Regions from separate parts of the Homo sapiens genome. Here regions 1, 3 and 4 are each linked to region 2. The links are contacts of gene promoters, found by promoter capture Hi-C in blood cells and fetal thymus (Javierre and others, 2016). All regions are on one chromosome and are shown on one strand. The core of a region is centred on a gene start or on the middle of the fragment in contact, and the rest is flanking DNA. Distances in the headings are between cores, read along the strand shown. Region 1 overlaps TANC2 (tetratricopeptide repeat, ankyrin repeat and coiled-coil containing 2). Region 2 holds the start of MRC2 (mannose receptor C-type 2). Region 3 holds the start of MAP3K3 (mitogen-activated protein kinase kinase kinase 3). Region 4 overlaps TANC2 (tetratricopeptide repeat, ankyrin repeat and coiled-coil containing 2).

Region 1 (2,942 bases), core at 266-2,765, 790 kb before region 2:
TTATTCTGAATCCAGAGAAATCACCAAGAGCTGAGAACATGGTCACTATCTCAGAGAGCTGTGGTGGCGTCTGTGGGAGTCTGGGGTATTTCGGTTTAGTTGGATTTATAGGGAAGGAAACAGGAAGACTCATTCTGGAAGAGTCCGAATGATTCCCTAACCCATTCGGCCTCCATCTTCCTTCTGGCCTCTCTGGGAATAGTGGAGAAATGCCCCATTTTGTCAGTCCAGCCAGGCCCTTCGGGAAGTTGTTTTGGTGCCCAAACACACACCAGGCAGTATGAGAGTTGGGTGGGGTTGTCATTTACAGGGTCACTGTCAAGTAGCTTAGGAACAAAAAAAACTACATATTTAAAAATCTTGCTGATCCAGCAGAAATTTTTCTTTATATTCTCAATATTTTAGCTCCAAATTTCAGGCCTGTTCTACTCTAGGCAAGAACCCTGTCCTCTGCCCTTTCTAACCCTCATCTCTCAGAATTGCTGTGTCTCCATTTGCTCTATCAAAGTGGGGCAGGCATTAGGCTTGCTGACTAGGTCACTCGGGGCTGGAGCTGAGCTGACTCCAAGGAGACTCTAATTTACAAATGAAGAAATGAACTGTCAGAGACATTCCCATCTTCTCTACTAATATCACCTGACAGGGGCAACTGACCTTGTGAAAAAGGAACTACCCAGAGGGAAGGAGAATTTCAGTCAGATTTCTGTGAGGACTTCGTTGCCCCAGCTAGGTAAGAGTGCGATCACTGCCACCACCATCACTAGCCTCAAGCTGGGTGTGATTTTCGGGACCATGTGCCCCTGGCCATAGCAGTGAACCTGAAGCAGTTCTTTCCCATGCAGCTGGGGAGGAGGAGGGCAGGAGGCATAAGAGACAGTGACAAGTTACACAAAGATCACTGATGGCAGGTTCTAGGTTATTCTGGGAGCTTTTCTGCCCAGTGGCCAAACTAAAGCAGATGGGCACAAGGAATGTGGAATGGTGTTCTCTTAGAGGGTCCTCTCCATCCTGGCAGCAAGGACCTCTTGACTCTGTGTGTGTGTGGTGGGTGATGGTTTAGGTGGAAGGGGGTCTGATGCCACCAGACTTGAGGAGAGCCCCAGAGGGAAGACTAACTAATCCGGGATTCCTCAAACGCCTATGGGAGAAGGAAGAGGAACCTGTGATGTTAAGTGAACCATCCTACTTTCCCTCTAAAGCGGGGGTGGGGTGCTCTGCTTAAGTGATTTCTTTAAGTCGCCGTTGTCTCTTTGTGCTAGCTGCTCTGGGGGTTGAAAAATGCCTGAGATACGGCAGAGGCTTCTTGGAAGAAGCTGCCATTCTCCAGTGAAAAAGTGTTTTTCTCCCGAAGTGAAACATTCGTGGCCTCCACAGCCCAGCAGATTTGCTGATCTTGAGCTGAGGGCTGTGCTATGGGAGCCATCCCCAAAGCTTGGCCCTGACAGTTCTCAAGGACAGAGATGTATTTGGGTACATATGCCCCAGGGTGGCCGACGCTGCCTTGGCCAAATTTTCAGAAAAGAGACCTCTTGCTTTCACCCTCTCTCTCTCTCCTCACCTGCTGCTGCGTTTTGCCCTTGCTCTCGCATAGTAAGCTTCATAAGATTTCGGTTTCAGCTCCAGGGCCTTAGTAGCAAATTCCTCCGCCATTCCAAAATCCTGTCATTACAATAGGTGTGCAAATGAGTCATTGATGAGATATAAAAAATAGACAACTTGGGAATAAAACAAATTATTTGTACATTTTTTGACATTCATGGATGGAACGCCTGGGACGCTAGACGTGCCTGACATGGCTCAAGCCGCGTGGCCTGTGGACTGAAAGTTCCTTCTGCCTTTGTCCTGTGTAGCGCTGCGACTGCTCACTGGACTTTATCTGCCCAGAATATTAAAATAGTTTTAATTTTCCCTCTTTTTGCCTTTCTAATAAAGTTCTCAGCCCGGAAGCCAAACACCAACCCTTTCCAGTGAAGCTCCTGAAGTTATCCATGCATGTAGGAGGCAAACGCACACATGTCCACATTTCACGTGGACCCTGGTCTGAGCCCCACACCTTCCTGCTACATGCACTACACTGTGGCTTTCTAAGGGACAGGTGAGAAGGTGTCCTGTAAAGTCCGGGAGGATGACGTCTGTAAAGGAAACTGCACTGACTACAGAGACTAGAGGGAGAGGGGGTGTCAGACAGACCTGGGTTCAATTCTCTGACCAGCTTCATAACCCCCAAGTGTATAGTGTATTTTCTCATCCATACCTACCCCGGGGGTAGGATCAAGTGTGATACAGTATTTAAAAGCCCTGCACAGTTCCCGGCACATAGTAGGTGCTCATTAATTATCGTTTTCTTTCTATTTCACAGAGGCTTCTCTGATCTGTTCCTTTTTTTAACTGGTTCCTTACTTAGGAAACACTTAAAATTAAAAATAAAACAAAACAAGAGAAGACCCCAGCTGTGACTGAGGTCTGTGCTCTCCCTAGAGGAACACGCTCACAGGCATGTCATTCCTGAGAACCCCTGGAAACAGAGACTGGGGGGTGGGGTGGGGAACAACGCCGACTAGGCAGCCTATGGTTTTCAGTATTCCCTTAAATACTAAGCTAAAAGAGAAGGCTTTCCCCTTCTTTTAGTGTCAAAGCCACAGTATAGCATGGTAGCCTCTGGTTATGGTCATGAGTCCTAAGGCAGAAAACAAGGCCTTGGGCAGAACAAAGGCCCTGGGGCATAGGTAAAAAAATTTTTTAAAAGTTGATGGGAAATCCTCTACCTAAGAAGACAGACGTCTGGTGTTTGGCACAGTATTGGCCCAGGAGGTGATTAACAACCGCTTCTGAACAAATGTGGAGCTAGAAAGAATTTCAGCTTTTATGGGTCACCCTCTCCCTGCTCTGCTTCCAGCCTTACCCTTTTATTTGTTCTTTTGGGACCATCATTATTCCTAAAA
Region 2 (2,869 bases), core at 129-2,628:
TGGCCCCCACCTTTCCCATCTGGCAGATATGTGTCTTGTGCCTACGTCACGCCAGGCCAACCCAGCAAGCACGGGCCAGGCTGGAGGCCCCAGACTCTCCAGGGGGCTGTCTGGTCCTTGCACAAAACTGCAGACACTGCACGGACTGTCCCCATCCCCCAATTAAACAGCCAGCAGGACCAAGCTGGGCCGGGCGATTCCCCCGGTCACTCCAGACACCCCCACCCCCACTCCCCCAGGAAGTGGATCTTTCCTTTCAACTCTTAGATTCTTGGCGAGGGATCTGTCTGTCCCCACACTTCACTGTTACCCCTGAATAAGGAGCAGGAAGAGAATGGCACAGTTTTGGGGTTTTCTGATTTTTGTTTTGTTTCCTGTTCGTTGGGTTTTAAAATCTTTAGCAGCTCTTTTGCCGCTCAAGGTCTGTCCCCTCTGGAGGGCCACTAGTGTGCCCAGAGCTGCCCACGCTACGCAACATCACAGCACGGCGGCGCCCAGCCTGTTGCTGCGTCCCAGTGGCAGGAGCCTCCTCACAGGGCTGCCGAGCTCACGCGGGGCGGATGCCGCGCGCCACAAGCCTCCTTGAAGACTAAGTGTGGAAAAGAAAATATCAACGCCCACGAGATGCAGGGGGCGGGGGGAAGGTGGGGGAAACGAACCCTCGCGGATAGTTGGAAAGCCGTCCTAACGCATCAGTCCTGGGGCAGAGCGAGGAGACTGGGCCCGGGAACTCCCGGACAGAGAGCCCTGGCTCCCCGGGCGCGCCCTGCAGGTCCCCTGCCGAGGACGGGCCGGCGCCGGGTGGTCCGGGAGCGCGGTGCGCGGGGGTCCTCAAGAGCCCACCCGCTTCCTCCTAGGCTGCTGGAGTCCCCCGGGCTCCCCTCCCCCGCCGCCCGCCACATCTGGTTCCACTCAGGTCCTCCCCCACCTCTAGGCGCGCTCCTCCTCCCCTCTCCTCCCCCGCTTTCAGAAAAGCGGAGACGAGTTTTAAAAACCCAGTCACACACACACGCACACACGCTTCTGGAGAAAAGAGGGGGGAAAAGGAGGGAAAAGTCGAGAGCGGCCCGCGCCTCGGCGCTCCCCCCGCCCGGGCCCTGAAGTTGGCCAAGTTGGCAGCGCCTTACCCGGGAGGGCGGCGTCCCCAGGGGCGCCGGGACGGCCGAGGTGCAGGCACCCGAGGAGCAGGACGCAGCGCAGCAGGTGACGAGGCCAGGGCGCGGGGGCCGGCCGGCCGGGCCCCATCCCCGAGCGCGGCGCTCAGTGGACGCGGGGACCGAGGGCGCACAGGCGCAACGCGCTGTGGCAGCCCCGAGGCTGGGCTGTGATGACCGCCCGCAAGGGGCTCGCGTCCTCCTCCGGGTCGGGACGAAGTGATGCCTCCCGGGGAGGAGGAGGGAGGAGGCAGCCCGGGCGGAGGGAGGGCGGAGGGAGGAGCGCAGAACCGGGGAGGAGGGTTCGAGGGGTAGAGGGGAAGGGAAGTGGGCAGCGTGGGAGGGGAAGGGGAGGAGGCGCGGGTCTGGGGCTAGAGCGTCGGGAGGGAGAGAAAGGGGTGGCGGAGAGGAGGACACGCCGGGTCCAGGAGGACCCCAGCGTGCGCCCTTTCTCTTGCTGCTCTGTTTCCCAGTCTCTCCCCGCCTCGCCTTCCCTCTCTTCTGTCCCGGCCAGGATCCCCAGACGCTGCGTCACAACTCCCCCGCTGGCGCGGGCGGGGAAGCAACTGCAAAACTTTCCGCAAACTTCACGGCGTGGTGGGACCTGGGCTACGAGGTCCGGCCAGCCCGGGGCGGGGGCGTGCAGCTGACCCAGGTGGCCAGACCCGGGCCGCCAGCATCCGCCCCGCCATCCCGCCTCTTTCTGCGGGCGTCTCCAGCAGCCTAGCATCCCCTACCTCCATGCCGAGGAGGACCCCTCCCCCGGTCTGGTGGGGAAGGGGCGGAGCCCAGGGCCTGGCCACCAGGGCGAAGATTGGGGGAGGGGGAGGCAGAGCCCTTGTTACGTGTGCGGAGCGCAACAATTCTTGCACGTCTTGTTTTAGCATTTTCGTGACCCCTGTGTCAGTGTTCCCGGTGCAGGAGTGTAGCACTTTTGCTTGTTGGGGCTGCATCCAGAAACCTGGGGAAAATCTGTCCACTGGACGTCTCAGAAGACCGGCATCATCACTCCCACCAACTGGACTGCTGGCCGGTAGCAAAAGACCAGCTGGAAATTTCATAAAAGGTTAGACAATCCACAGTTACTCAGTGTTACGCAACAGGTCTCTGCAGCACAGAGCACGAACTGGGGAGTCAGGATGCTGGAGTCCAGCCCTGCCTCTCTGCGGATTCCCTGCCTGACCTTGGGAAAGCCTCTTGGGGTCTCGGGGCATAGGGCAGGACTGAGACGTTGAGACCCCAAGTGCAAAGAAGACACATTTCTCCTACCACGAGTAATCAAAAACACTATGAAACTGTAATATGGGCCGGGTGCGGTGGCTCACGCCTGTAATCACACTTTCGGAGGCCGAGGAGATTGAGCCCAGGAGTTGAAGACCAGCCTGGGCAACATAGGCAGATCCCATCTCATTTTGTTAATATAAAATTTTTAAATAATAATAAAACTGTAATATAAATTGTATTGTTTCCTATCTTGTCCACCTTGGTATGTTTTTTGGAAATAAATTCAATTTTTTTCCTTTTTATTCCTCCTATCTTGGGTAAATGTTTCCCCAACTCTGCAGTGGGGGTGTTGGGTCAGAAATGCTCACTCGTCTCTTCCCATCTCTGTCAGGCTGAGGCTCTTGGTAAACAGTCCAGTGGTAATAGAGCCTCGAAGCAAGCCCCCACTGAAATCCCCTAGAGGCCCCTGGAAAGGGTCCCATTAGCCACCC
Region 3 (3,043 bases), core at 154-2,653, 990 kb before region 2:
AACGATCCTCTCACTGAAGTTTACCCTTTTATTATTATTTAGGGCAATACCAAATATTTTGCAAAACTTGTGACAACAGTATCACAACACCTGTCTGGGCAGGAGAAGTAAAGAACGTTTAAAATGTTATTTCTTAGTCTAGTCCAGTAGTCATTTGCTAAACTACCAAAAAGGATATGGAATATAATTCAACTCAAATGCTACGTGCGGAAGACATTAAAAGCTTTCCTTAGATTACATCTTCACAGTAGAAATTGTAAATACTGACAAAAAGGAAGTGATTTCAGAGAAATTCTTTTGTGTAGCAAATGTTTCTTTCAAAAGTTACATAATTTCAGGGATACCGCAAGAAAAAAATAATGGATTAAACCCCTGCAACGGGATTTTTCAAAAAGTAGGATGTGAATTCTAACTGGCAGCATCCGACCAACTCCTGACCCCCAGCAATCTGCGTGCAGCACGCATTTGTCAACCGCGCGCTTGATCACAGCTCCAGTTTAATCGCCTCCTAGCCGAGCCCCGCACGCCCTCCCCCCTGCGCTGGGGCGCGCACAGGGCTGGAGAGCAAGCCCCGGGAACTCTCACAGGCCGGCCTGTGTGAGCAAAGGGAAGGAAATGACACAGGCAGGAAAAAAAAGCAAATCAAGGAAAAGACACAACAGCAGCTGGGCCTGCGGCAGCCTCCAGCCCGGGCCCCACACTGCGCTCTTGCTCCCCCGCCCTCGGGCTCGCGGTCCGGCTCGTTCGGACCAGGCTGCCCCGCGGAGCACGGGCCCTCGGTCCCGCCGCCGCTTCCCCGGGATGCGCCCGCCGCGCCGCCCAGAAGGAGGGCTGCCGAGCGGGCTCTGCCGGCCGGGCCGCCCCGCGGAGCCAGAACCCCCGCCCGGGCCGCGGCGCGCGAGCGGGGCGGGCGGCCGGCCGGCCGGCGGTCCGCAGCCCCGGGCCGGGCGGGCTGTCCATGCCTGTCAGGCGGTGGCCCAGGGTCCTCCTCCCTCAGCCTGGGGCGGGGCGTCGCGAAGCAGCGCGGGCACAGGCCGGGGCGGTGGCGACACTTACCCATGGTGGCGATGGCGGCGGCGGTGGCTAAGGTCCGTGAGTGTCACCTCCGCAGCCGGGGCTGCATGCCGGGGGCCCGGGCGGCGGGGACGGCAGCGGGCCTGGCTCCGCGCGGGGGGCGCGGGCTGCGCTCTGGGCCCCCGCCGCCTCCCCAGGCTCCGGCTCCGGCTCCGCCCGCGGCCGGGCGCTGTGGCATCGGCAGGGTGGCCCGCTACATCCCGGGCGCTCCTGGGCTCGGCCCAGCCCGGCCTCGGCGGCGCCGCTCGGCCCGCCCGCCCGCCAGTCCCTCAGACCCGCAGTCTCTCCGTCCGGCCACCGTTCTCCACCTCAGGAACGCTCCGAAAAACAAACCGCTGGTCGCGCAGCTCGCCCCCCTGTCTGTCACTCACGCCGGCCCCCACCAATCCCAGGCAGCCGCTGGGCCGTCGCACCACCCCCACCCACCTCACCAGCCAATAACAAGAAGGAAGTCGGCAGCCCCCGCCGTCCCCCTCCAACTCTCTCCCAACACCCTAACTCTCAGCGGCCAGCTAATCATCAGCACCACACGATGAACCAATCCCGCCTACTCTCACAGGATGCCAATGGGCGAAGCCAAGGCGGTTTCCGAGGGCTGTCTAGCGCCTGCCAATCATCGGGACAGCGCCCGGCTCCCTGCGCTGTTAGCCAATCACGTAGAGGCCTCTAAGCCCCCGCCTCTGCGCATCCCTCTCTGGTGCTGTCTCCCTCTCTTGGGAGAGATTGGGAGGTGTTGGTTGTTCCAATCACAGCTCCGGCGTGAGGCTCCGCCCACATTCCCACCTCCCGTCAGTCACCGAAGGCTCGGCGGGCGCGCGGGCTGGCGCAGTTCCCCGCCGGCTACTTTAGGGCTGGGGTGAGGAGTAGGCGGCTGCAGGGGGCCCTCAGGCCTTCCGCCCTCCGGGTTCTCGGAGGCCCCAGCGATCTGGGTGGTTCCAGAGGGTGGCGTCCTGCTCCTCCCCGTGCCCAGCACAGGGCGTGTAACGAGTGGGGAGGGTCTGGCCTGAGCACTTCCCGGCGCGCGGCCACCTCTGCGGCCCCATCCCCCGACTGGTCCTCCGGTCCCGACGCTGCTCTTGCCCCGGGCAGGGGCGGCCGGCCCAGCCCAGCTTTCCCTGTCTCACACCTCCAGGGCCACACCCTCTGGTCTAGGTACCTCAGACACCCGAGGCTGGGATAGTGCTGGCATGTGGGTCCCTGGAAATCTGAGTTCCGCCAGAGGTTCTTTCAGAAAATAACTTTTTTCTTATAAAAGCAACACGAGCTTTTTGTAGGAAAATTGAAAAATGCAGAAAACTATGAAAAAGAAAAGATCCCACCCCAGAGATAATCTATTTCCTACCTAGATAGGCGTTTGACAAAAATGGCTTTGTATTGTTTTGTAGTATGCTTACATTTTATTCTGTTTTCCCGTGCCACCAAATATCCTTCCAAAACAATTGTACTGATTGCATGATGTTTCAAAATTAAAGGCACCATAATTAATTTCCCCAACCTTTTCATTGTTCAACATTTTATACACTCAGATCTTCAGATTCCAAGTCCACCACAATTAATGTGGGCTCCTTTCTCCGGCCTCTGTTCCAGTGTAATATGTCAGGCTCCAGAATAATCTTCCTCAGATGTCATTGTCCACTGTCCACTAAGAACATTTAGTGGTGGCTTTGCCTTGAGTGTCAAATCCCTTAAGAATTACCTTGGGCTCTCCCCTATTTCTTTTCTTTTTCTTTTTTATTTTTCGAGATGGAGTCTCACACTGTCGTCCAGGCTGGAGTGCAGTGGCGCGATCTCGGCTCACTGCAACCTCCGTCTCCCGTGTTCAAGCAATTCTCCTGCTTCAGCCTCTCAAGTAGCTGGGATTAACAGGCGTGCGCCACCACGCCCGGCTAATTTTTGAATTTTTAGTAGAGACGGGGTTTCGCCATGTTGTCCAGGCTGGTCTCGAACTCCAGACCTCAGGTGATCCGCC
Region 4 (2,890 bases), core at 279-2,778, 750 kb before region 2:
ACAATGACTCATAATCTCTGGGAGTAAGGCTCAGGAATGTGTGTGTATTTTTAAAAAAACTCTGCAAGAGAATCTAATGTATAGCCAGAGTTGAAAATCACTGACCTACATCTATAGAGAAATCTCAAAGACAGAATGCTGAGTGAAAAAGAGAAAAAAGTTATAGAATCTTATAGCATTAAAAAACCCAAAATAGTTGTATATATTGTTTATGAACAGGAACCTACATTGGAAAAGTGTAAAATATAGATGAGAAGAACATGTTAGGGGTGTTAGCATGTGCTAAATCCCAACACATTTAGAATAGGAGTTATCTCTAAGGGAGACAGAGAAATGGGGTAAAAGAGAAATACAAAAGCGTTATCTATTATATTTGTTACATTCATTTCTTAAAAATAAAGAAAAATATTTGAAGCAAACATGGAAAAATGTTAACATTTGTTAAATCTGGTAGATAATATTTGATTACATGCAATTATCTGTACTTTTCTATATTTCATAATGCAATTAAAGAGGAATAGGAACATCTTTTCTTCTAAAACAAGAAAAAAAGAGGTAAGAATTGATAATGATATAGATTGATTTGCTGGTGAGGGGAGGAAAATAGTTAAAGGAAGTCACACTTGGTAGCTTTGATCTTTTTCAGTGACTCACAAGTTAGGCTGTTTGTTTCATTAGTTGGCTTTATTAAGAGCTAGAGGAAAAAGAAATGGGAAAAGGAGCTGAGTAAGAATGGACCTTGGTAAATGAATGTCAACTAAATGGTCCAGTAAATGGACCACAAAGCAGCACTGAGAACCGCACTGAGGCTGGACTAGATACATAAGAAATACGCCTGAAATACATAGCTTTGGATTTGGAATACTAGCTTTACTTGTACTATGGACTTTTGATTTCTTCTGGTTAGTGGAGTTGACCCTTTGTTCCTGTGAAGTACGGGAGAAAAGAGCGTCAGTTTGGTTCAATTCAACAAAGATGACAGGCAGAGAAGTGTGATCCCATTACCAGCCAGGATGTAGCCAAAAATAATGCATAATTAAATTCTAAGCTCATGGTTTCTTAAAGAGAATTTTATGTTCGAATAGCTTGAAAAAGTGCCTCTTCAGTATCTGTAACTATTGCTCAGGTAAGGGATCTTTTTGTCGGCAATAAATGGTAATGGAGTCCCTTCCTTAGAATCTAAATTTACAAAACTGTTTAGCAGCCAGTGATAAGCTTGCTCAAGATTTTTGAATACTTAAGAAAACAGGGAAAGCATGAAGAAACAAGAGCAATCTCATCTTAGGGATCTTTAGCTGTGGCTCAGGTATCTGAAGATCATGGCAAAAACTAACCTTGGGGGCTTATCCAATGAGCTTCTTTAAAGCGGGTTATTTACAAACATCACCTTTATGAATATAAAACCAGAGAAATGTAAAATTAATTGGAAAAAAGTACCCATTGGATTGTGTGTCACTGCTGAATAGAAGTTTCAAGTGGAACTATTTCTAACCATAAAGTCTATATTTGTCTTTGACCCACAGCTGGTGCAGATTGAGAATTCTAGCAGTTTGGGAGAAGTTAAAGCCTCTCAACAGGGAACACTGCATTTAAAGGATCCTGTAAACTGCAGCACCAGGAAAACCATAGTCCAAGTCTTCATTCTTCAGCTTGCAGTCACGTCACCACCATATGCTGTACACTAGAGTATTTATGGCTTGAATCACACATGGAGCCAGTCTTATCTCAGGCAACCATGCTGTCTGCATCAGTATAAGATAAAACTGTGCTAATGACAGGAGGGCATGTTTAAATGTACGTTTCCATGTATGGGATAAAATACTTCGTCAAATGAAGCTTGGTCAAATGAAGCTTCATGCTACTTCTCTGTGAATGTGGTATTTATTTTATGGGGCAGCAAAGGCAGGGATTAGCTTCATTTTTGCATCTGATTCTAGGCAGATAGTGATGCTAAAAGGTTAATGCTTAAGTTACTGTCTTTCAGTTACTATCTAACAGCAGGACAATGCTCTTAGAGTTTATGGAATTATTAGCTACTTTTTAGTCTGCTTGAAACTGGAATGCCATACCTTGCCAGTTATTTTAGCTCCACTCTGCTCCTACTAAGTAAGGTCATTTTTGGTACAGTGATTTGTTAGACAAGACAAGTAAGATTCAAATACAAGATTTGTCACTGTGGGTTTCACTTCTGTCCATCTGATGACCAGGCTGCTCTGGCTCTGTGCTTATATATTGGGAAGAATTTGCTAGGCTCTTGAAGTTATCCTTAATGCCATCTTTCTCTCTGAAGACAATGGTTTCATTTTTTAACAATATCCTGTGGGGGAAGCCTGACCCAGAGAACTGTTTAAGATACCCATATTCTCCATCCTGAGGCAGGAAAAGAATTCTGAAAAGGCTGTAGGGATTGGAACTCTCAGACTGTGGGACAGAAAAATTAGCACAGTAACTTCCTTCTCCACTTTTGTGGGTTAACCCAAAACTGTTATCTGAACTACAAATTCCTTAAGATTAGGGATTGTATCTTTTTTGTTTTTGTATCTCTAGTACCCAGTTTAATGCCTCAGTAAGTGATGAATAAACAAATGAATGCATACATGCACAAACAAATTATGTGTCCTCTTTTTGGTCCTCCATTTCAGCCTTCTGAAGGCTGAGAGAGAAGCTGATGTTATAGAGTTCTTAAAGGTTTTCAAACTAATGGGAGAAAAACTGGGATATAATTTGAAGAGAGATTTGGGGGAAGTAGCTCCAAGGAAGGTTAGTGTTGGTTTGAAAGTCATAGCACCAGGAATGTTATTATTGTCACTAAAACAATTTTAAAAAATGGAAAGAGTAATTGCCCTCAGTGATTTTTTAGACATCATGAAAACCTGCAACTAATTGCTAC

The links. The method cuts DNA at HindIII sites, captures the fragments that hold promoters and counts their contacts. A CHiCAGO score of 5 or more calls a contact.
Region 1: a fragment that was not itself captured here is called in contact with the fragment with the promoter of MRC2 in region 2 in 2 of 17 cell types (M0 macrophages and megakaryocytes); the score reaches 7.2 in M0 macrophages.
Region 3: a contact is called between the fragment with the promoter of MAP3K3 here and the fragment with the promoter of MRC2 in region 2, in 1 of 17 cell types (fetal thymus). The highest score is 6.3, in fetal thymus.
Region 4: a contact is called between a fragment that was not itself captured here and the fragment with the promoter of MRC2 in region 2, in 3 of 17 cell types (neutrophils, M1 macrophages and total CD8 T cells). The highest score is 6.5, in neutrophils.

Annotation. Positions count from the first base shown.
Region 1 is chr17:63,417,024-63,419,965 of GRCh38, reverse strand. It overlaps TANC2 (tetratricopeptide repeat, ankyrin repeat and coiled-coil containing 2), which reads right to left. Exons shown (of 28, transcript NM_001394998.1): 27 at 1,559-1,659. Among named protein-coding and RNA genes, the nearest start is that of CYB561, 28 kb to the left of the region's middle. The HindIII fragment of the contact is 164 bases long and covers 1,434-1,597 here.
Region 2 is chr17:62,626,179-62,629,047 of GRCh38, reverse strand. MRC2 (mannose receptor C-type 2) reads right to left here and starts at 1,378. Exons shown (of 30, transcript NM_006039.5): 1 at 1,128-1,378. The coding sequence starts at 1,245. It overlaps LOC107985020 (a long non-coding RNA gene), which reads left to right and starts at 998. Exons shown (of 2, transcript XR_001752961.3): 1 at 998-1,203; 2 at 2,039-2,611. RefSeq lists silencers at 749-818, 1,019-1,458 and an enhancer at 2,652-2,869. The HindIII fragment of the contact is 5,047 bases long and covers 1-2,869 here.
Region 3 is chr17:63,620,777-63,623,819 of GRCh38, reverse strand. MAP3K3 (mitogen-activated protein kinase kinase kinase 3) reads right to left here and starts at 1,403. Exons shown (of 16, transcript NM_002401.5): 1 at 1,057-1,403. The coding sequence starts at 1,060. RefSeq lists silencers at 653-702, 943-1,002, 1,093-1,482, 2,093-2,162. The HindIII fragment of the contact is 2,948 bases long and covers 226-3,043 here.
Region 4 is chr17:63,380,129-63,383,018 of GRCh38, reverse strand. All of the region lies in intron 15 of TANC2 (tetratricopeptide repeat, ankyrin repeat and coiled-coil containing 2), which reads right to left. It overlaps LOC105371856 (a long non-coding RNA gene), which reads left to right. Exons shown (of 4, transcript NR_188626.1): 4 at 1,524-1,788. Among named protein-coding and RNA genes, the nearest start is that of CYB561, 65 kb to the left of the region's middle. RefSeq lists a silencer at 1,517-1,811 and an enhancer at 1,517-1,811. The HindIII fragment of the contact is 621 bases long and covers 1,218-1,838 here.